7 separate regions of the Homo sapiens genome follow, and all the other regions are linked to region 3. The links are contacts of gene promoters, found by promoter capture Hi-C in blood cells and fetal thymus (Javierre and others, 2016). All regions are on one chromosome and are shown on one strand. The core of a region is centred on a gene start or on the middle of the fragment in contact, and the rest is flanking DNA. Distances in the headings are between cores, read along the strand shown. Region 1 overlaps SKAP1 (src kinase associated phosphoprotein 1). Region 2 overlaps SKAP1 (src kinase associated phosphoprotein 1). Region 3 holds the start of LINC02086 (long intergenic non-protein coding RNA 2086). Region 4 overlaps SKAP1 (src kinase associated phosphoprotein 1). Region 5 overlaps SKAP1 (src kinase associated phosphoprotein 1). Region 6 overlaps SKAP1 (src kinase associated phosphoprotein 1). Region 7 overlaps SKAP1 (src kinase associated phosphoprotein 1).

Evidence for each region. Contacts are between HindIII fragments. The CHiCAGO score rates a contact against its expected background, and 5 or more counts as called.
Region 1: a fragment that was not itself captured here is called in contact with the fragment with the promoter of LINC02086 in region 3 in 3 of 17 cell types (M2 macrophages, M1 macrophages and erythroblasts); the score reaches 6.1 in M2 macrophages.
Region 2: a contact is called between a fragment that was not itself captured here and the fragment with the promoter of LINC02086 in region 3, in 1 of 17 cell types (M0 macrophages). The highest score is 5.8, in M0 macrophages.
Region 4: a fragment that was not itself captured here is called in contact with the fragment with the promoter of LINC02086 in region 3 in 1 of 17 cell types (M2 macrophages); the score reaches 5.5 in M2 macrophages.
Region 5: a contact is called between a fragment that was not itself captured here and the fragment with the promoter of LINC02086 in region 3, in 2 of 17 cell types (M0 macrophages and megakaryocytes). The highest score is 5.6, in M0 macrophages.
Region 6: a fragment that was not itself captured here is called in contact with the fragment with the promoter of LINC02086 in region 3 in 3 of 17 cell types (endothelial precursors, M1 macrophages and M2 macrophages); the score reaches 6.0 in endothelial precursors.
Region 7: a contact is called between a fragment that was not itself captured here and the fragment with the promoter of LINC02086 in region 3, in 1 of 17 cell types (M0 macrophages). The highest score is 5.7, in M0 macrophages.

Annotation. Positions count from the first base shown.
Region 1 is chr17:48,204,985-48,208,037 of GRCh38, forward strand. All of the region lies in intron 4 of SKAP1 (src kinase associated phosphoprotein 1), which reads right to left. Among named protein-coding and RNA genes, the nearest start is that of MIR1203, 50 kb to the left of the region's middle. The HindIII fragment of the contact is 1,352 bases long and covers 771-2,122 here.
Region 2 is chr17:48,226,404-48,229,334 of GRCh38, forward strand. All of the region lies in intron 4 of SKAP1 (src kinase associated phosphoprotein 1), which reads right to left. Among named protein-coding and RNA genes, the nearest start is that of SKAP1-AS2, 66 kb to the right of the region's middle. The HindIII fragment of the contact is 2,523 bases long and covers 268-2,790 here.
Region 3 is chr17:48,641,225-48,644,204 of GRCh38, forward strand. It overlaps LINC02086 (long intergenic non-protein coding RNA 2086), which reads left to right and starts at 1,403. Exons shown (of 8, transcript NR_189645.1): 1 at 1,403-2,980. The region is part of intron 1 of LINC03057 (long intergenic non-protein coding RNA 3057); the gene reads right to left. RefSeq lists enhancers at 2-1,000, 1,001-1,997. The HindIII fragment of the contact is 12,737 bases long and covers 1-2,980 here.
Region 4 is chr17:48,141,483-48,144,589 of GRCh38, forward strand. All of the region lies in intron 11 of SKAP1 (src kinase associated phosphoprotein 1), which reads right to left. Among named protein-coding and RNA genes, the nearest start is that of MIR1203, 13 kb to the right of the region's middle. RefSeq lists an enhancer at 2,336-2,405. The HindIII fragment of the contact is 9,940 bases long and covers 1-3,107 here.
Region 5 is chr17:48,244,110-48,247,113 of GRCh38, forward strand. The region is part of intron 4 of SKAP1 (src kinase associated phosphoprotein 1); the gene reads right to left. Among named protein-coding and RNA genes, the nearest start is that of SKAP1-AS2, 49 kb to the right of the region's middle. The HindIII fragment of the contact is 1,815 bases long and covers 569-2,383 here.
Region 6 is chr17:48,162,368-48,165,652 of GRCh38, forward strand. SKAP1 (src kinase associated phosphoprotein 1) reads right to left here. Exons shown (of 13, transcript NM_003726.4): 11 at 102-202. Among named protein-coding and RNA genes, the nearest start is that of MIR1203, 7.5 kb to the left of the region's middle. The HindIII fragment of the contact is 1,940 bases long and covers 951-2,890 here.
Region 7 is chr17:48,184,163-48,187,298 of GRCh38, forward strand. It overlaps SKAP1 (src kinase associated phosphoprotein 1), which reads right to left. Exons shown (of 13, transcript NM_003726.4): 7 at 561-685. Among named protein-coding and RNA genes, the nearest start is that of MIR1203, 29 kb to the left of the region's middle. The HindIII fragment of the contact is 983 bases long and covers 829-1,811 here.

The sequences.
Region 1 (3,053 bases), core at 197-2,696, 440 kb before region 3:
CTTTCTTTCTTTCTTTCTTTCTTTCTTTCTTTTTCTTTCTTTCTTTCTTTCTTTCTCTCTCTCTCTTTCTTTCTTCTTTCTCTCTCTCTCTTTCTTTCTTTCCTTCTCTCTCTCTCTCTCTCTCTCTGTCTCTTTCTTTTTTTGAGATGGGGTCTCACTCTGTTGCCCAGGCTGGAGTGCAGTGGCTTGATCTTGGTTCACTGCAGTCTCCACCTCCCAGGCTTAAGCAATCCTCCCACCTCAGCCTCCTGAGTAGCTGAAACTACAGGCACATGTCACCACGCTCAGCTAATTTTTGGATTTTTTGGTCGAGACAGGGTTTAGCTATGTTGCCCAGGCTGGTCTAGAACTCCTGGGCTCAAGCAATTCACGTGCCTCGGCCTCCCAAAGTGCTGGGATTACAGGCGTGAGCTACCACACCTGGCCAAGGAAATCTTAAATAGAACAAAAAGATCAAGAAAAGGAAACCAGAAAAGATAAAAAGTATTAGAACACAGAAACAGAGGGAAGGACATTATCAAAGAAATAATAACATTTCTCAAAATGATAGGAATCTTTTGATTGACATGGTCCTCCATACACCCAGCACATGAATGAAAAGGGACTCACATATTGGTAATCACAGTGATATTTCAGAACAGAATTCTTAAAAAGAAGATCCTAAAACCTTCTGAATCAGGGGGGAGAAACAAGTCATACAAAGCATTAAGAATCAGAATGGCACTGAAATTCTCCACAGCAACAATGAAAGCTGGAAGCCAATGAAGCAAAGCTTTCCAAGTTCTAAGGGAAAATGATTTCCATTAGCATTCTCACACCCAAACTAACAGTTAAGTGTAAAAGTAGAATACAGAGGTTTTCAGACATTCAAAGTCTCAAGAAATTGACCTCCCAGGCATCCTTTCTCAGGATGCCACCACAATATGTGCTCCATCAAAATGAGGGAGTCCACCAAGAAAAAAGGTGACATTGGGTCCAGAACGTGGTGCTCTGATGAAGGAAAGGGATGAAAGGGAAGTCCCAGGATGACAGCTGTGCAGGAGGCCTGAGAGCAGCCAGCCCAGAGTGGGGAGGAGGATGGAGATCTCCAGGAGAGACTAGAAGCACAAATGGAACTGATGGATCATCTGGTGTGTTTGATAATGTGGAAAATTACAATTCTGCAAAGTTTGGAAAGAATTAGGGATGGTGACTTAGAAAACTATGCAAATGAAGAAAGTCAAGGCATTTGCCAACTCTAGGAAAAACAAGAATTTTTTTTACATTTCCTGGTTTATTATAAAGGATATAACAAAGGATATAGGTAAAGAGATGCATAGGGTGAGGTATGGGGGAAGGGGTGTGGAGCTTCCATGTCCTCCCTGGCTATGCTACCCTCCAGGAACCTCCACGTGGTCAGTTATCTGGAAGCTCTATGAACCCAGTCCTCTTGGGTAAAAAATAAAGACGTTTTTTTTTATACCCCTTGGTATAAAAAATAAAGAAATAAAATTTAATTATACAATTTTATAAGGGTTGACGTAAATAATATTTACATAGTTAATGTAAACACTAAATATTGATTAACTAAAAATTATGATATAACCACACTCGAAACATGAAGAATGGGGAATTGATGGCTGGGATGGAATAGGAATGCTGACTCCTCCCCTATCATAATATAAAATCAATAGGTAATGTCTGAAATTGATAAACTAAAAAAATAGCTGTCTAATCATATTATTTAGAAGTGTGGAAGAGACACATCAGAATGGATGAAAAAGTTAATTTTTAAAAAATGGAAAGGGGTTGCCTCTGGAAAGCAGAACTCCAGGGTGACTGCTTGTAGTATTATTTGATTAAAAAAAATTTTTTTGGAAATGGGGTCTTGCTATGTGGCCAAGGCTGAATTCAAACTCCTGGGCTCAAGTAATCTTCCCACTTTAGCCTCCCAAGGGACTACAGGTACACACCATTGTGCCTGGCTTTATTTGATTTTTAAGAACTATATGCATACATTATTTTGATAAAAATAAAAATAGAAAATTTTAAAAATAGTTTTTCAACCATTTCACAGTACAGCCATGTCTCCATATTTATATAATGATGTCCATTCTGAGTGGCTGATTACACAAAATTCCTAAGCTTGGTATGAAGGTACGTGGCAAAGGAATCCAGAAAAGAAAGAAGAAACCAGTGTAGAATGAAGAGAAACAATGCTATTAAAACCACTTGCACAGGTTGGGCATGGTGACTCACGCCTGTAATCCCAGCGCTTTGGAGGCCGAGGCAGGCAGATCACTTGAGGCCAGGAGTTCAAGACCAGGAGTTCTGGCCAACATGCAGAAACCATCTCTACTAAAAATACAAAAATTAGCTGGATGTGGTGATGCATGCTTGTAATCCCAGCTACTCAGGAGGCTGAGGCACAAGAATTGCTTGAGCCTGGGAGGCAGATGTTGCAGTGAGCTGAGATTGCGCCACTACACTCCAGTCTGGGCAACAGAGGAAGACTCTGTCTCAAAAAAAAAAAAAAAAAGAAAAAAAATTTACATAAAGTTATATTTGAATTAGATATTGTCTTAAGAATACTTTAATAATCTGTAGTCTGTATGTAATTTTAAGACTCATTTACAATTCTAATATTGTACTTTATACCATACGTCTAATTTGCCTTAGCTCTTCCTACATTGCAAGGGGACCCACAAAAGCAGGAGGTCTCTTTCCACTGGAGAGCTGTTTTATTTCATAAGGAATAAAAGGTATGGAATCCCATTATGAAATTTGGGGTCAGAAGCCCAGGGTATAAACTTGGGTTGCAATTTACAAAGTATTATTGTATTACTGGGCATGACCAGAATTTGATCAAGTACCTGTAGATCAAATCAAATCAAGAAAAATTTATCTGGAACCTTCCACGTGGGAGGTTTTGTGCCAGAGAGCACAGAATTCCTAGAATGTCCTAGAATGACTTCAGATCAGTGCAAAGACAGAGACAGCACAGACATGATTTTAATTTATAGGGTTGGAAAAGTACAAGGCTATAAAACAGGACACCTGTTGTCTTGCATTTA
Region 2 (2,931 bases), core at 279-2,778, 410 kb before region 3:
ATGCATTTTTCTATAGGCACTATTGTAGGTAAGTTTCATCTATATCTCTATTATGGATCAGAAATTCCCAAAGTGGAAATAAAATCCACTCTCTGTATTAAAGATATCTAAGTCTACTTTAACTACATTATGTTCTTGGAGGGGATATCTTAATGGACTAAGTATGAGGTTTGAAATATCTAGACTTCCTGGAACCACAGGTTCAATTCCCAGCTGAATCAGCTCAGTCCTCCAGTCTTCACTGGCAGATAAAGTAAGATGCTAACAAGCTTACTGTGCATAGATCTATCAGATGAGTTGCAGTAACTCATAATCTTGCCTATTTTTTTTGAAGTGGACATTTAACTTGATTTTGGTGGTTTTGATCTTGAAAAATTCCATACAGTCTGCATGGTAAACTTGATGCTTAATTTATTCAAAAGGGATGTGCTATTTAGGGTGAGCTCGCACCCTCCACCAAGTTTGAGACATTCTTAAACATCTGTGGGGTTTGAAATGGGCAGGTTGTTGCGATTCCAATTACCTCTTCCTAACTCCATACCTTCCAGTTTGCCTGGACTTGAGCTTCCTGTCTTGCCTCACCCTTTAGTGTATCTTCCTCTTGGCTTGACCTTAGCTTGGCTCTCTAGTTTTGGTTATTGAGCTTGCTTTGAATTCTGGCACAGGTGAATTCTTCAAGCCCTACTTAACTTGGATTCTGGACTTTTCACTACTCTGACTTCCAGGACTGGCATGATATCTCAAGTTTTACTTCAGTTTCTGTGAATGGAGAGGGAACATGGTATAAAAAAAGAGCTCTAGGGCTTGGGAAAAATTAAGAGTTTCCAGAAAGACTATTTCCTAAACTGCCCCTGTTTATTCTTGTTCTGTGCGCTAGTCCTAGCACTGACACAAAGTAGTTCTGCAATGATGAGCAAGTCATTTGATTTATCTGCAGTTTGGTCTGCAGAATGGGTAGGCTAGACTACATGAGTTCATGGCTCCTTCTCTGTCCTAAGATTCTTGGATCTTTCTTGGTTTCTGTCTGGGCACCCCATCACTCAAGCTCCAGCTCAGTACAGAAAGGGACTGAAAAATGTTTTAAAACCTAAATTTTATGCATCATCATAGCCACTAATTAATGCCAATTGAGCACTAACACCTTGTGTTAAGAATTTTAGAATTCTTTACCTCTAGTGGAAAATAAAAGAATTTTAGAATTTTATAGAATGCAGAGAGGATTGGCATTTTGGAATTTTTTATCAAGGGGAGATTCCATAACATAGTCTCAAAGAGAAGCTCATTTTTATTTTTATTGTGGGGTCTGAAAGAAATGAAGTTGACTGGCTAGTAGAGAGTGGTGGTGAAGAACATGGACTCTGCAGCCAGAGAGCCTGCTCTGAATCCAGGTTCCAACCCTTACCAGCTGTGAGACTTCAGCGAACTGATCAATTTCTCTGTGTTTCAGTTTTATCTTATAAGGTTGTTACGAGGATAAAATGAATTACTGCTAAATAGTGCTTAGAACTGTGTCTGGAACACAATATGCACTATGTAAATGTTGGTTAAATAAATAAAAATATTGGAGCTACAAAGTCTCTCATTCATTTCAAGGTGTATTTCTGTGTATATCCTGATCACTAATAAGTAGCAGAGATATTATGACATATATTTAATATCTACAATTAAGTTGCAGGCTTATGCATAGAGAAACACTGATGTAATTCAGTATTGTTAAGATTGCAGGAAACATAATTATATAAGATGTGGGGGTGGGGTAGGGTGTGTGTGAGAGAGAGAGAGAGAAAGACAAAGAGAGATAGAGAGATAGAGAGATTGAATGAGCATGAGAAATCTTTCTAATACACCAATAAAAAGTCTGTCTCTAAAATACTTAATTTTTTCACACCGTGTATTTGTGTCTCACTAAAAAACGCAATATAGAACATCTGTATTGTTAATAAACCTCCCATAGAGAGCACTGACACTTGAATAGCCTGAAATGTTTTCTGACATCTGACCAGAGCTAATCATAGATGCTTCTATAGGTTGGTTTCTGCTTTTGGAGCATTATTCAAATATTGCTGCAGTATTGTGTTAAATTCTCAAATCATACCCAATAGATAGCAAAGGTGGGCCTTGAATAATTTAAGCCTTGTATTAGGTTTTGTGTTAGAACTGAGGAAATAGCCTGGTGAGCATTTATTAGACTCCACTTATGTATCAGTTGCTGTTCTAAGTGCTTTACATGTATCAACTCATTCAGGTTTCAAAACAACCTTATGATGTAGGCGTTTTCCCATTTTATGAATGAAGAAACTGAGGGATACAGAGTTTAAGTAATTTGCTCAAACTATACAGCTAGTGACTGCCAGAGCTCAGTTAAGCCTTTTTGTTTAGTGCCTGGGGTTTTGGGCCAGGTCCTAGGCATTTTGGAAAACTGAAGAGAGAACTAGGCACCACAGAGCTGGGCTAAAGGAGCTGACACTGTGGTGGGATTCCTAATAGAACCCTGTGGTTTGCTGGCACAGGGCCCTCTACAGGCAGGTGGGGTAAGAGCTGGGGCAGATAAGGAAAGACACCACAGTTTAACATCTGATGCTCAGCTCAGAGAGGAGACCTCTCTGCCTCTTCTCAGCACTGCCTTCAGGTCTGGAGTGAGTCTCTGTACTCTTGGTCGTGCATCCCTGAGGGTGAGGTCTGGATCCTACTCTCTTTACACCCAACACTTAGCACCATGTCTGACACATTGTAGGCACCCAAAAGACCTGCGGTTAAGTATGAATCTCTTTTTTCAACTTAGGGTTCTGAAGCTTTAATATGAAAATTTTATTTATTTTTGTTTTTATTACGTAGACTTGGAAATAAAGCAAGAGAATGATGATCATCAACTACCTAGAAGCATCAGTTAAGTTAGCAGTACTAAACCTTTTTTTGTCATCATAAAACATT
Region 3 (2,980 bases), core at 153-2,652:
CAGACAAGGAGTATGCAAGGTCTCTGTGTCTCTAATTAAATTAATATGGAGCTTTTATCCACTGGGGCCTGGACCTTCCGCCATTTGTCACCTTGTCCAAAGCTATCTCATACCGAAAGAGAATTGAACGTTTCAGGAAACACTTCCCCTTTGCAAATGCCCTTCTCTTGGGGAATGGGTATAGTGTCCAAATCTCCAGCTCCCACCATTTCTAGCCAGCCCTGAGGAATTGTCTGAGACCCGGGAGCCCAGAGATCATCAGCGGGGGCCAACAGCCATGACCTTTGAGTTTTCTTGGCCGCTGGGCCACAGAAAGGGTGCAAGAGGCAGCTGGACAGGTAGACAGAAGTAGGCACAAAGAAAGGGGCCCTGGACGGTTGCCAGAGAAAAGACGGAGAATGACAAAGAGAGAAGTGAAATAGCTGGACTGGAGGCGGGAACTGGAGCGCAGCAGGCAGGTGGAGTGGCCAAAACCCGCGTGCTAAGAAGAGCCCACAGGGGCGGCAGGGGCGGCAGGGGCGGCAGAGGCGGCCAGGCGCGTCTCCGTTCCCCATCTTTACGGGGAGGTTAATGACCTCCTCAGCGCCCCCTCGTCCCAAACCACCCAATTACAACTCCTCAGGCTCCTTAATGATCTGATTAATTGGTTGGTTAGGGCGGATGGAGGTGCTTCTCTGCCGGGGACCTGGCGGGGTTTCGCTAGATCATTTGTTAATTGTGGGAAGGAAGGACGCATCCGGGGAGAGGAGATCCAGGGCTGGAAAAGTGGGTGAGCGGCGCTGGCGCAGGCGGCCAGGAGAGAGCAGATGAACCGTTCGTTAGGAGCAGCGAGGTAGTCGTGAGCGCTGAGATCCAGAGACTAGGACCCACTCCCTCTCTGAGCAGCAAATTGGGAAGAAGATGCTCACTCGGTAAGGGCGAGGGAGCCCGGCATGGCGCCCCACCACGGGCTCGGTCTATCTGCGCGCCAAGATCCCGCTTGGGGCGAGGCGTTGGGTCAGCGTTTAGAGCCACTCCCTGCGCTGGTGGCTGGACATAGCCTCCCTATCCCACCTCATCTTCCCCCATCCCCGACAGAGGAGGTTGTGAATCTACAGGCCCTTGACGTTGAGGCGTCGGAGGGCGCACCTTTGTAATTGCGGCCTCCCTTCGCCCCTTAAGTGCCGCTTCTGGGCGCCTAGGCTGGATATGAAAGCCCCGTTCCTAATCCTCTGCTCTGGTCCCCTCCTCTGGACTGCTGGGACTCTAAGCTAGGCCCTCCCCAGGTTCCATCACTGCGGCGCCAACCCGCGGCTGGGCTGTCCGCAAGAGGGAGTTGAAGGCGCGCGGAATCCCGAGGTGCAGCTGACCCTCCTCTCAACGCCGACTCTGCCGCTCCCGCCCGGCCACCTCCCTGTCGGGCAGACTTCCTGTTCTCCTGCTCACAGCAGGGAGGCAGTCGCCGAGCCGGTCAGCAGCGTGCACGGAGATCTTCACTCTGCGCCCAGCCCCGGGACACAGGTGCAGATCTCCAGCGGAGCACTGCGGAGTGCGCGCCGTCGAGCACTAGGGAATCCTAGACGGAGGACTTGGTCCATTCCACGCAGTCCCAGGCAGGTCCGCAGCGGAGGGACGCAGCGGTCTCCAACTCCTGGTCACGACTTCGGCGACCCTCCACCCCCTGAGAGACCTGGTCCCACGGAGCTGTCCCCCCAGGAGCCGCAGCGGGAATAGCAAAGCAAAGGGGACCACTCAGCCCCCAGGAGGAGCCCTGAAGCAAAAAGGTTGCTGCGGGGAGCCACGTTCCCTCTGGTTCACCTCGAAGCCCAGGAGCTCCGGTCCCTGGACCAAGGAGTGAACAGACCTGAGGAAGAGGTAAGAGGAGGTTTAACGAGTAAAAATTTGGACTCTCTCCTCTTATACTGCTTTAAAGCATGAGGAATTTGGGCCCTGACTTCTCTCTCCTTGAAGAAGTTTCTCGCGTTCTGGCCAGTCCTTGCGTGTCTGCACCCAGGGCCGGCAACAATTTAAGGAGGAACTTTACTGGGTGGTCGAGGCTTGAGAGTTCATAGTTACCTTTTAAAAAAATCATTACTATTACTTAATATCTAGGTTATTTTGGACTGAGCCCCCATCTTCGCTCCAGCCCAAATTCGGCCTTTAACAGTACTAGGGAGTGCTTCAAAAGAGGAGGGTCGTGGAGGAAGCGACTCAGACGGCCCCAAGAGGAGAGATGGGAAGGAGTGAGGGCTTTGGCCTTAATGATCTCTGCAAGTTAAAGGCCATTATTCCTATAACTACAGCTGGGGAAAGGGCAGAGGAGGTAAGGACGGAAAGTGGGCTGAGGGTGGCCACTTTGGCATCTTCTTGAGAAAGGAGACATTTGAATTCCCGGCCCAACTAAAAGCCCTGAGATGCTTGCCCTTTGCTTTACAGACAGTGATGGCAAAGAAATACTGCCACCAGGGTGTTTTTAAAGGTGAAGGTTGACCTGATAAGCACTGAGATCAGACAAAGGAAAAAAAAAGTAAAGCATTTGGTCTTTCAGTTTTCTGGCTAAATCTGGCATCATTTTCCAGACACAAACTTCTCTGATTAATCCAAATAGCTCTCAACCTGAAGTTCAAGGAATTTGAAATCCTCTGAAATTGTGGGATTTCACAGTTCTAAAAGGAAGTCAGCTGTCACTTTCTGAGAAGCCCTGGGAGGGGAAGGAAGCAAGAGGAGGTATATGAGGAAAGGGGGTGAGAGGCCCCAGATCTAGCTCTCTAGACATTTAGTGCTGGACCCCCAAGCTCTGAAACTCAAGCTGACCCCATCTACACATTGCCAAACTGAGTAGAAAGTTGCAAGGCAGTCAAGGAGATAAATTTTATTTACTGCTTTAAGGATGAGTTTGGGTGTCTAAGCAGATTATAAATCTGGGTGTTTTCAGTATTTGTTTCTTTCTTTCAACTATTACTGATTTTTGGCCCAGAGTAGTTTCTGGGGCCCTTGGGGC
Region 4 (3,107 bases), core at 402-2,901, 500 kb before region 3:
ATTCTCCTGGGTTCAATCTGAGTAGCTGGGATTACAGGTGCCTGCCACCACACCTCGCTGATTTTTGTATTTTTAGTAGAGATGGGGTTTCACCATATTGGCCAGTCTGGTCTTGAACTCCTGACCTCAGGTGATCTGCCTGCCTCGGTCTCCCAAAGTACTGGGAATACAGGCATGAGCCACTGTGCCTGGCCACCCCTTAACTTCTTAACAAAGTAGACAAGGCCCTGCATGACCCAGTCCCACTCACTGTTCAGCATTGTTACTCACCTCCTAGATTTAGTGTTCCTTAGTAAAATAGAACTTGTCTCAGCTGCTCCCATGGGCCACAGGCTCCCTCACCTTGGAACCTTTCCTCTGCCTGTTTAGCCTCTACTTCCCTTCTCATTTCATGGGGCTTACTCCTAAGCAGCCTTCAGATCTCAGTTCCTGAGTTACTCACTCCCTAGAAGCCTCTCCTTGACACTCTCTGACTGTGTGGGGTCCCGGTTACACGGTCCACAGTGCTGTGCCCTGTGCTTTCCTGGAAAAGAGCTTGTGATTACACTGCCTTCTATCTGCCTGTCTTTGTCTCAGTGTCAATCACTAGTTGGAAAGTTCTGAGGACTGGACCTTGTTGGTTTTGTTTGCTTTTGTGTTCTCAGCATTCAGCACTATATCCAGCACAGAGTGGGGCCAAATAAATACTTGTTAAATGAGGCCGGGCGCGGTGGCTCACACCTGTAATCCAGCACTTTGGGAGGCCGAGGTGGGTGGATCACCTGAGGTCAGGAGTTCGACACCAGCCTGACCAACATGGTGAAACCCTGTCTCTATTAAAAATACAAAAATTAGCTGGGCGTGGTTGAGGATGCCTGTAATCCCAGCTACTCGGGAAGCTGAGGCAGGAGAATTGCTTGAACCCGGGAGGCGGAGGTTGCGGTGAGCCAAGATCATGCCATTGCACTCCAGCCTGGGCAACAAGAGCGAAACTCCATCTCAAATAAAAACAAAACAAAACAAAACAAACAAAAAAACTTGTTAAATGAGATTATGATGAAATGAAGGGGGCAGTGGGAATTTGTATTCTTAGTTGAGCAGATTTAGTTACAACTAACTCCAAGATATTCCCCTGGTGATTGAACTAGTTGTGGCAGAAAGAGATCAACTACCTTTGGAGACAGTCTCCTCAAATGGCTCCTTATACAACAATAAGAGTCTGAAATGCCACAAGAAGTGAGACTACTGAGTTGATCCTTTTAGGACCAGGGAAGTGCCTTGTGAAAATCAGCCTTAAATAACTAAATGTGTCTGTCTGCCACCTCTTCCTACACCACACCTTCTTTTCTTGTTTTGTTTTTTGAGACAGGGTTTCGCTCTGTTGCCCAGGATGGAGTGCAGTGGTGCAAGTATAGCTCACTGCAACCACTCCTGGGCTTAAGTGATCCTCCCGCTTCAGCCTCCTAAGTAACTAGGACTACAGGTGCATTTCACCATGCCTGGCTAGTTAAAAAAAAAACTTTTTTTTTTTTTTTTGTAGAGATGGGGTCTCCCTATGTTGCCCAGGCTGGTCCTGAACTCCTGGGTTCAAGCAATCCTCCTGCTTGTTGGGATTATTGGAGTGAGCCACTGTGCCTGACCCACCACACCTCATTTCCTCCCTCTCCCAGGCCAGCTTCTCCCTACAGTTCGCAACGTCTTATGGGAAATTACCTATAATTCTTTAGCTTTTTTTTTTTTTTTTTTTTGGGAGACAGGATTTCACTCCCTTCACCTAGGCTGAAGTGCAGTGGCATGATCTCGGCTCACTGCAACCTCTGCCTCCTGGGCTCGAGATTCTCCTGCCTCAGCCTCCAGAGTAGCTGGGACCACAGGTGCATGCCACTGCCTAATTATTTTTTATTTGCTAATTATTTTGTATTTTTTTTTTGTAGAGATAAGAGTTTTGCAATGTTGCCTAGGCTAGCCTTGAACTCCTGAGCTCAAGTGATCCCCCAGCTTCAGGCTCCCAAAGTGCTGGGATTATACCCTGCCCAGCCTGTCAGGGCATTTTTAAGCTCCTCTTGGTACAAGATATGTTACTGTCCATTTTCCGACACTGAAATTAGGGCAGTTTCTGACTTAAGTTTTCTTGTAGTGTTGCCTTGCTGTGAAGGGGAAATACATACTCTGTCTACCTCTCACATTGTAACTCGTAAAAACTAGCTTTAGCTCTTCTGCTATCTCACAGGCAGAGAGTGGGCAGTGTTGTCTGAGAGTCTTTTGATCCAAGTCAACTTGCTGAAATGTGTGAAATGTGGTCTTCCACCTGCCAGATGCTGTCATCTGCATCACCTGCAGGGGACAGTAAGGCATTTGCTCCCCGGGGGTTGTTCAACGCTCCTAACTTTGACTAACACTTTGTAGCACCCCTCTTTAGTCGTAATGCCAGGAGTAGGGATGAAGCCTTGGGAAGGTGCTCTCTGCCAACTCGAAGAGGGTGCGAACAGGAAGCAGATGAGTCTCAGCAGGGTACCTGCAAAAGCCAGGCTCCCAGTCTGTCTGCTCTTGCTCCAGGGGAACACTGACCCTGCCGACTGCAGATGTAGAAGCCTCGCCACAGTGATGAGAACTGAAATGAGTGAAATCAACTCTCTGCCCTTCAAAACAAAAGAGCAGGCAGAAGTGTAAGGAGGATGGCACAGTCCCAGAGACCATATGCATCCTGCTGTGGGAGCCTGGGAGCTTAATCAAAGCACCTACAGGTCCCGGGATCTGACTGTCTTTTCCAGATTTCATCCCTTGGCTGTATACCCGAAAAGGGCTGCAGGGCTGAGATGTTTAAAGCATGAATGGAAAATTTCTAACCTTCTCTCCCACTACCACCCCCATGCGTTGCTCCAGCCCAGTCTGAACACCACGAGGTATTTTAAAATAATTTCTACTTTGATGAATTGCTGGGGAGTCCACAATTGCTCATAATCAAAGGGAGAAAAATGCAAATGAGATCCGGCCGAGAACTATCACCACCAAACGTTTATTTCACTGCACAGTGCCAAAAAGAATTAAAACAACATTAAACTCACAGCAATCATGTTTAAGCCCTCGTTTCCAAGTGCCAAATTGCACCACTCTGGATCATACAGATG
Region 5 (3,004 bases), core at 226-2,725, 400 kb before region 3:
TGCCTGATAATGACCAGAGCTAATGTGGTTCTGCTTTCAGTGTGGATAATGTTTAAGGAAGTAGCAGAATGCATGGCAGCTTTCCTGGACTATACAGTCAACTCCAATGAAGCCTTTTCTCCAGCTTGAGTCATAACCATAAATACTGCCCCATCCCCACATTCCAGTAACAAAGTCCTTCCTTCCTCCTTTGCCCCTAAACAAAGGGGACAACAGTGTGTTCGGTGGGAACATCTTGAAATAAGATAACACTCCCCAAATGGAAGGAAGTCACAGGGGAGATTGACGCCATAAAGGCAGTTCTATCCTATTGAAACGCCAGCAGATGGGGTCATAAACATTTCCTTCTCCCCTTGCTAACAGCCACCAAGTCAGCTTCATCTTTATCTTTATCTTTATCTTCCTGTCAGGTCATAAATACCTCTCACTCAAGCTTCACTCACAGCTGGGCCATGCCAAGCAAGTTTACTTCCTGTTAAAGGTTCCTTTCAGCAAACATTAACAAATAGTTGGGGGAAAGAAAACTGAAAATTCTGCTGATGATACACAGTTATAATATTCCAAAGGAAGCTTGGAAACCTCAAAGAAAGGGTTTGGCCAGACTAAGAAATGACCAAACTGCCTAGCAAAAAGCATGGAGATCCACTTAAAAGAAGATGCGTTCACAGGGAAAATGAGTCAAATAATTAGTTAAAACTTATATTTACATCCAAACAAAATAAAAGAGCTGAATAGTGTCATGGGCTTTCATTCTTTCTTCTAGAACCTCCAAATGATGCATGGATGCTTGCCATTTGTTCCTGAGTCTAAAACCTGGACCATAATCGTAGAAAATGAAAACAGAAGATTTCTAGGAGTAGTAACTCAATACAAAGTCATGCTTAGGCCAAAGGTTAGAGAAAGAACACACCCCTTTACTTTCAGAATTTTGGCTCATGAGGAAGGAGTAACCTGACTCTCTTTCCTTCCTGGGGAACAGTTTTACACTTGGGAAACCATCTGCCTGAAGTACTGCTGGCAGCTCCAAAATTATAGAATCTAAAATGGTAGGAACCTGGAAAATAGTAGGTATCTTCCTCCTTGACTTGGCTGGAGCAGCTGCCCCTCTTGAATTTCTGGGATATAAGATTACAACCAAAAATGACTGTAGTCTTTCTAAAACACAACCCACAATCTGATTTTTTTTTCTTTTTTCTTTTTGTAAAAGCATCATTTTAAGGAACACATTCTGACAAAATAGTTAAGTCTTTTAAAATTACGATAGTGACAGGTTGCTGTTGATTACGAGAAGTAGACTTTTGCTCCAACAGGGATTGTTTAAAAGTGCCTTTATTATGCTTTAGAACGACTGATCCATACTGGCTTATTTCACTCAATCTTTCAATTTTTACATGTGCTTCTAGATAACATGTGACTTTAAAGAGAGAAAAATGAAGACAGCACTTACTATAATAAGTTTTCTATGGTAGTTATAACAAATGGGTTTGAATTCCAGCTCTGACACTTTACTAGCTGTGTGACTTTGGGAAAGTTACTTAACCTCTCTGTGCTTCAATGTCCTCATCTATAAAATGTACAATAAGAGGCCGGGTGCGGTGGCTCACACCTGTAATCCCAACACTTTGGGAGGTCAAGGTGGGTGGATCACTGGAGGTCAGGAGTTCGAGACCAGCCTGGCCAACAGGGTGAAACCCTGTCTCTACTAAAAATATAAAAATTAGCCAGTGTAGTGGTGCATGCCTGTAATCCCAGCTACTCAAGAGGCTGAGGCAGGATAATCGCTTGAACCCAGAAGGCAGAGGTTGCAGTGACCCAAGATTGTGCCACTGTACTCCAGCCTGGGTGACAGAGCTAGACTCCGTCTCAAAACAACAACAACAACAATAACAAAAAACAACAAAAAAACCCACAAAAATTTACAATAATAATGCCTTTCTCAACGGGTTGCTATAAATTAAAATACATAAATCACTTAGAACAGAGCCTGGCACATTGTAGGGGCTCTGTACATTTTAACACACATATAAAATGGAAGACTTAGGTAATTTCATTATCCGTACTGTATCTAAAGCAAAGGATATTGGTTATATTCTTAAAAATCTTTAATTAAGCTGAATATTATACTTCAGACTAGCATTCAAAGGTTTCCAAAAATTAGGCTGGTTTACCTTTACTGTCTCCTCTCATCATCCTCCTACAATTAAGTAACCCTTGTTAGACCGGACTATTTGGTGTTTCCTGAACACATTCTACATTTCCCCACACCTACACCTTTGTGGGTATAGCCCCGTTGCCCTGGAGTTCACTATTCTCACTTCTATCTTCCCCTATCTCTACCTGTTAAAATCATAGCATAGCAGAGGTTCTCTCATTCAAACCATAAAGCTTTATTTTATTTTTTATTTTTATAGTCATCCTTCAAAGCCTGATTCAAATACGGTTCTTCATGGAGTTCTAGAGCTGGAAGAGCTTTAGAGACTAAATGATCTAATTTCTCCTTTTACTAAGGCATGCAGAGATTAAGTGATCTGCCCAAAGACATCAAGCTACAGCTTGGACCACATTTCAGGTCTCCTAACAGTGCAGAGATCTCTGAGAGTTAATCACCCAATCCTGCTGGTCTTTTTCATCACTCTAATCTAAACTGACTGATCTCCTTGGAGCTGCTATGTACTTACAGTACTTATCACACAGCCTCTTGAATTTCAGTTACTTGGGTGCATAACTTATCTCCCACGTCATCTCTCATGTGCCTTTGACACCTCTGTCTATCCCTGGAATGCTTAGAACAGTCTTAACCAGAAGGCATTTAGTAAATATTTGTTGAATTAATGTATGAATGAATGTTAGAAAGAAGGAAATTAAACAACCTTTCCCATCCCCCTGACTCATACCTCTCGCAGTCTCAAAAGTTCTCTCTAACCCAACTATCTGAATTGAACCATCAATTCTAGTGCACAATAAATAAATACCTCCACATCTGCAGAAAAGTGTCACTATACCT
Region 6 (3,285 bases), core at 671-3,170, 480 kb before region 3:
GCCATGGGAAGTGTATGACATGGAATAATTCTGTTTATGGTGACTAAATCAAGAATGAAAAAATTGACTTTCTATTTAAGCCCCACACTTTCTGTCCTTACCTTGCTCAGAATACGGATGAGGTCACCCCGTTGGAAGGACAGTTCATCTGGCTGGTCACCATGGCAATCCCATAGGCCCTGGTAGTAACTGGCATAGTCTACTGATCAAAGAGAGGAGAAATCAAAGTTAAAAGGACTCTATTTTTTCCGAGGTACCCATGTTTTTGCTGCAAATGGAAACCAGGGTTCTGATATTGCCCCTAGGAAACCTCAGATTAAGGGGAGTTGAGATGAGATACAGCCAAACACTCAGCATGAGCAAAGGACTATGGGAGAAGGAGATCATTAACTAACATTAAATATTTACAGATCACTCCTAGTAGGATGCCGTTCAACAATATGATAAATATATTTATTTATTAATAAAAGAAAATCAGGCAGGTAATTTTTCACTTGGTTTGTAAGTAAGCAGTGCAGAGGTTTCCCGCCAGACTTTCCTGATCCAGGGCAACTAACTATCTAGTTTTTCTCTTCATTATGCATTTGAAGGATCAGAGTAAATCTGTGACTTCTGCCTATTTACAAGAAAGGCTTAGTCAGCCAGCAGGCTTCTGGATCACAGCTCACTTTTCGGCCTTCTTTGTCCATAGGAACTTTGTCCTGGGAACTTCCCACCTAGGTACTATATGAGGTAATCACCAATAAATACTGAAACGAATAGCCCAGTCTTTAAGTGGAACCAAGGGGGTGTCTCATCCATTACAACTAAATTCTGGGTGGGCTGGCCCTTTTCCAGCATCTCATTTGTAGACCTTGAACATGTCTGCCAAGATTTATCTGCAAGCCCCAGGGGAACAGAAACCAAAGTGATCTGCATTAAAAATGAAAGCAACTGAAGACGACAAACCAAGCTTTAGAAGCAGCTGGAGAGATTTACTGAGCTTCTCAGCAGAACTAGATGGCAATGATGCCACAGGACAGCCATCGATTCTTAACAATGAAGAATTTGTATTGATCTTCTACCCGGAAAGGTTAAACACTAGAGTACAAAGTGGGAGAGGATCTGGGGATTTGAATGGCAGGAGAGCTAATGCCCACTAGACCAGGCATGCTCCTTTTTCCTTGGGGTGCTCTGTATCAGAGCTGTGAACAAAGCACCTACAAAAGATGAAATTCAATAGATGGGAGTCAGGAGTCCTGGGTTCTAATTAAAATTCACATGATTTTGGGGGACTCTGTTCTATAGATTTCCACCTTTCCCTTTATTCATTTTACCCTCCCATGAGCAGTGATAGTATTGGTGGCTGAGGATAGGGCAAGTGGGCAGTAGGGGCACAGACACCCTCCCTATATTTGCTTTTTTTCTACTTATTCCTGACTTACGAGCAATTTAAATAATAAAGGCACGGAGGGACAAAATCCCTATATGTCTCTGGAAGAGAATTTTGGTAGGAATCTTAAAGGGTACAAAAACAGAGGAGGGAGAGAACTATTTAGTTAAAACTCAGATATTGCAAACAAAAGTAAAAATGTCAACCATATAGAAATTCAGGCATGTTTTCTTCACACATAAAATTGTCTGTGTGTGCAGTAGACAACAGAGGGCAGCAAACAAGATAACTACTGTGAAAACATTCTGCCACAGAGTTGATAATATGTTTGGAAGAAAAATACTTTGGGAGAAATATGTTAGTTATTGAATAGACAAAGCATTCATTTTTGGAAATATTAAGTACATGAAATAATAGAGAAATATCAATCCCTGAAAAGTGAAAGTAGTTTTCCCAGAGGATATATTATGAATTTTCCATTTTAATGGAGTTGATTAATTACCCCAAGATTTTGACTAAACTCAGGAATGAAAGAATATTAACATCAATATTTTTCATGGATTTATATATGGTAGAGAAAACCATTTTTGTAAAAATAGATTCTAAAACCATAACAATATTTCTAAGTGGTAAGGAGACTAACAAGGTTATCTTGGTCTTTTCTGGCCTAGCAGATAGTCACTTTGGAGTACGGTTCCCTACTGTGTGCCTGGATATGGGATAGGTCCTAATATTGAGTGCCTTTTTGGTGTATACATAAAAAGTGATTTGACATTGGGTATATATGGGCCTGGGAGAACATCTGGAAAAAGATCTATTCTAAAAGCACAAAAGATCACAGGGAAAGCAAGAAGCTAGGAGAAAAACAGAAGCCTTCCAGGAAAAAAATAAAGATAGAAAAGGTCTTTGATATTAAAGGCCAAAAGAAGACAGAGTTCAGGAATCCAGGAGATGGTTTAGCTCAGCCCAAGAATAGGGAACTTCAGTCAGAAGTAGAACAGCTCCAAAAAAACAGGCAGAATGAAGGGCTAAAAACTGGGAAAAGTTTGAACTTGCTAGCTAGCTAGAAGTATTCTCTATTAAGGAAATCAGTGAGGGATAATTCCTTAGCTGGGCAAGGTGACTCCATATTGCAGACTTCCTGTTTAACACACATGTGATATGCATTTATGTGTATGTGTGCATGCAACTTCACTAATTCATTCTCATCATCCAACAGACATGTATACAGTACCTACTAAATGCCAGGGACTGTGTTAGATACTGGGAATCCCACATTGGCCACACATGAGCCCTCCTCTCAAGGGTACCTTCTAGTCGGGGAAGCACCATGGAAAAAACAGTTACACAAATGTTTATTTATGATTATGATATGTCTGTGAAGGAGAAGTTGAGGACGCTGTGTGTAATAGGGAATCTAACATAGTTTGAGGGGTCAGAAAAGGCTTTTCTGGCCAAGTGGGTGTTAAAGACCTTGAAGAGGGGAAGAGATAAGTTGGAGGAGGGCTTCATTCCTGAAGCTTGGCACCAGGAAGAGCTTAAAAGCCCAGAGTCTGCAGGGCTAGTCCAGCTTCTCCCTAAACCTGCCCAACTCATCCTATAAACAAGAGAATGCATGAGGAGACTTTGCTTTCTTTTCTTTTCTTTCTTTCTTTCTTTCTTTCTTTTTTTTTTTTTTGAGGCGAAGTTTTGCTCCTTTTGCCCAGGGTGGAGTGTAATGGCATGATCTCGGCTCACCACAACCTCTGCCTCCTGGGTTCAAGGGATTCTCCTGCCTCAGCCTCCCGGGTAGCTGGGATTACAGGCACGTGCCACCACGCCCAGCTAATTTTGTATTTTTAGTAGAGACGGGGTTTCTCCATGTTGGTCATGCTGGTCTTGAACTCCCGACCTCAGGTGATCCGCCCACCTCG
Region 7 (3,136 bases), core at 70-2,569, 460 kb before region 3:
GTCTTTCTTGCCCCGACCAGGTCCTCTAGTCCTTCAATTATTATTGTTACTATCGTCACCAATATCTTAGAAATCCTTCCAGAGATATGCAAAGCATCTACACACAGGAAGATTATTTTGGATAGCAAGATGAACATGGGAAAATAATTTTTTTTCACTCTACAGTTAGATCTTTTTTTGGGATTTCATGGAAGGAAGTGAAGAAAATCAGTCGAAGAATAAAGAGAATGGGAATTTAAACCATAAAATCGGAGACTATAAGTAAGGAATTTGATTGTGTGCTGCAATTGACAAGCATCTCACCTATGAAGTGAAATTGAGAAGGGGAGGAATGAAGGATGGAAGCCAAGCAAAGTCTGTATCTAAGATGAGAGTGGCAACAGAGGGGAGGGTGTGGCATAGCAAATATGAGGACATGCCAAGAAATAGGGTCTTCGTTGGCATGAAATGAGCAGGTAACAAAGAAAGGCTGGAACCCAGCATAGCAACCATGGCTCACATGCAATACAGAAGGAAACTGCAACACCAAGAAGGATCACCATCTCCTTGATGCGTCCTACCTCATAGCTGCGCCTATCCTGGGAGGTCAGTTCAAAGCAGGATTCTTTCTTGGAATCTCTTCGCAGGTGGGGGGCCATCCGTACACCGTAGCCCTTAATGAGGAAGGTCCCTTTGGGCTGCTTGCCTGCAAGACAGGAAAGCTCCCTGTATCCCTAGAGAGATGCAACTGCCAAGGGAAGGCATCCTCTCTGGTATGTAAAATAAAAGCACAGAAACAGCTGTTACATCCCTGAGGAACCACAATAGTCAAGGAAAGGTTATTAGAGAAGCTTAAGAAGAGGCTACTGCGACAGTAAGGCAGATATCACTGCCAAGCTAGGGAAATGCAACGTGAAAGGTTATTTTGCCAAAAGAGTACAACAGAGACAGAGAATTTATTAGAATGTTAAGAGATCTATAACAACAGAAAGAAGGAATTATTACAGCAGAGAGAGTGTGGCTGTAAATGTGAGGCTCTTGAAGGCTATTATAAAGCTGAAACATTATTATCAGGGCCAGCAGAGCTCACATTTGAGGGGAGGGACAGCAGCACAGGGGGGCATTATAAGGTCCCAGAATCGCCTCCCATGCCCTATGTAGCATTTGGGCTAAACTTCTCTTCCCCTTCCCTGCTGGTCAGGTGGGAATTTATGCCAGAGGGAGAATAATTAAAACTCAGTATTTTATCCTCCTTGTAAGAGGTCAACCTGGGAAGTAGCAGAATAACGTTGAGTATTATTAGATGACGAGGAAGGAGATAAAAGGAAAAGGACCATAAGTGAAGAGAGACTATTCTGCTTGTCACTACTTAAAAAAAATGTTAGAAACAGAAAAAGAGGAGGTGACTCTCAAGAATTTTGTATCCTCATTGTGTGGGTCAGGCAGAACACACAGAGAACAGGAACCACAGTGTCTGGGATGCTTTGAGCTCTATATCATGTGAAATGAATTGCTTAATAAATGCCTTTTGATGATGATAATGATGACAAGGATGGCAGTGCGATGCCAATATTAAAAAAGAAAGAAGAAGAAAAAAGACTGTGCTCACCTGGTTGAGCTAAAAGAAATACACAAACACTATTCTTACTAAGAAAATGTCATGGGCACAGTAAGAAATAACTGGCGAGAAGGGAGCCATGGAACAGTGCTTTTTGACACCAGAATCTTTTTTGTTAAAGTATCTCTCCTTGTTCTAACTGGCCACTAAAATGTTTTGTTGTTTCTTTGGTCACCAGATTTTATTTCACCCTAATGGCAAAATGGTCAATAAAAGCTTCCGAGTCTCTTGCTCTTGCTCTCCCTGCTCCTCTCTCACCGTGAGTATGGAAGATTCTGAATGAACAGATGTGACACACCTGGTTTTATATCTAGATATGCCAACCACTTATTTAAATGCAAAATAAATGATGAACATATTTACAGTGAGAAGTGTCATATTAGTTTGAAGTTTTAAAATAAGAAAAGAACAACTGGCTGGATTGAATGCCTATAATTTAGAGGAGAAATTGTGGTTGCTGGGTTGGAGAGTGGGCTGGGGGTTGGAAGGACACAGAGGACTTGTAGCTCAGTTTACAAACTATGCTGTTATCCTTCCCAAACAGGGCTTTAGCCTTTGCCCCTAGATGCGAAATGTTCTGAGGAATCTAGGATGGTGAAAGGTAGGCAAAGGTCTGTGATAACTACTGCAGGCAGTGTGAGACAATTGCTTGGGCAAATCTTAAGGATTTCAAGTCACTTAGCAAAGCTGCAGTTTTTATTTATTTATTTATTTATTTATTTATTTATTTATTTATTTATGGTTGAGACAGAGTCTCGCTCTGTTGCCCAGGGTGGAGTGCAGTGGCGTGATCTCGGCTCACCACAACCTCCACCTCCTGGGTTCAAGCAATTCTCCTGCCTCAGCCTACAGGCACATGCCACCATGCCTGGCTAATTTTTGTATTTTTAGTAGTAGAGACGGGGTTTCACTATGTTGGCCAGGTTGGTCTTGAACTCCTGACCTCATGATCTGCCTGCCTTGGCCTCCCAAAGTGCTGGGATTACAGGCGTGAGCCACTGTGCCTGGCCCAAAGCTGCAGTTCTTTCCACTACCTTAGTGCCACAGGTGCAGGAAGTACAAAGGCAACTGGGTGGGTGTCTGATTATTCCCTATATTGGATATCCAGGCACTGGGAAAGCACTAAGTTTGAGGAAGGAGAAACAGAAAATGATTGCAAGGAAAAAGAAGAGTCTACTCAAACTGTATCGCTGGCCTCTGTACGAAGGTGCACAGTACAAGGAAAGCCCCAAGAAGAATTGATGCTTTTTAAACTTTGTCTCCCTCTTGCGTCTTAGAATTACTCCTGGGGCAGTCCAACTCTGTAGAAGAGTATCCCCTATTCGAAAGTTTGCATTCATCTATAATAATAATTTTTAGCTTGTCTTTATTTGTAATTGCCTCCAATTGTGCTTATATCCTCTATTTCTTTTCATAAACCAATCAATTACATTAAACATGGATGGGAGGTCTTCTAGGGTTAGCTCATGAGTGTTGACTTGATTAAGTCAGTGGTGGCTCATTAAGAAACTATCTCTGGCCCGAGTCAACACTTCACTG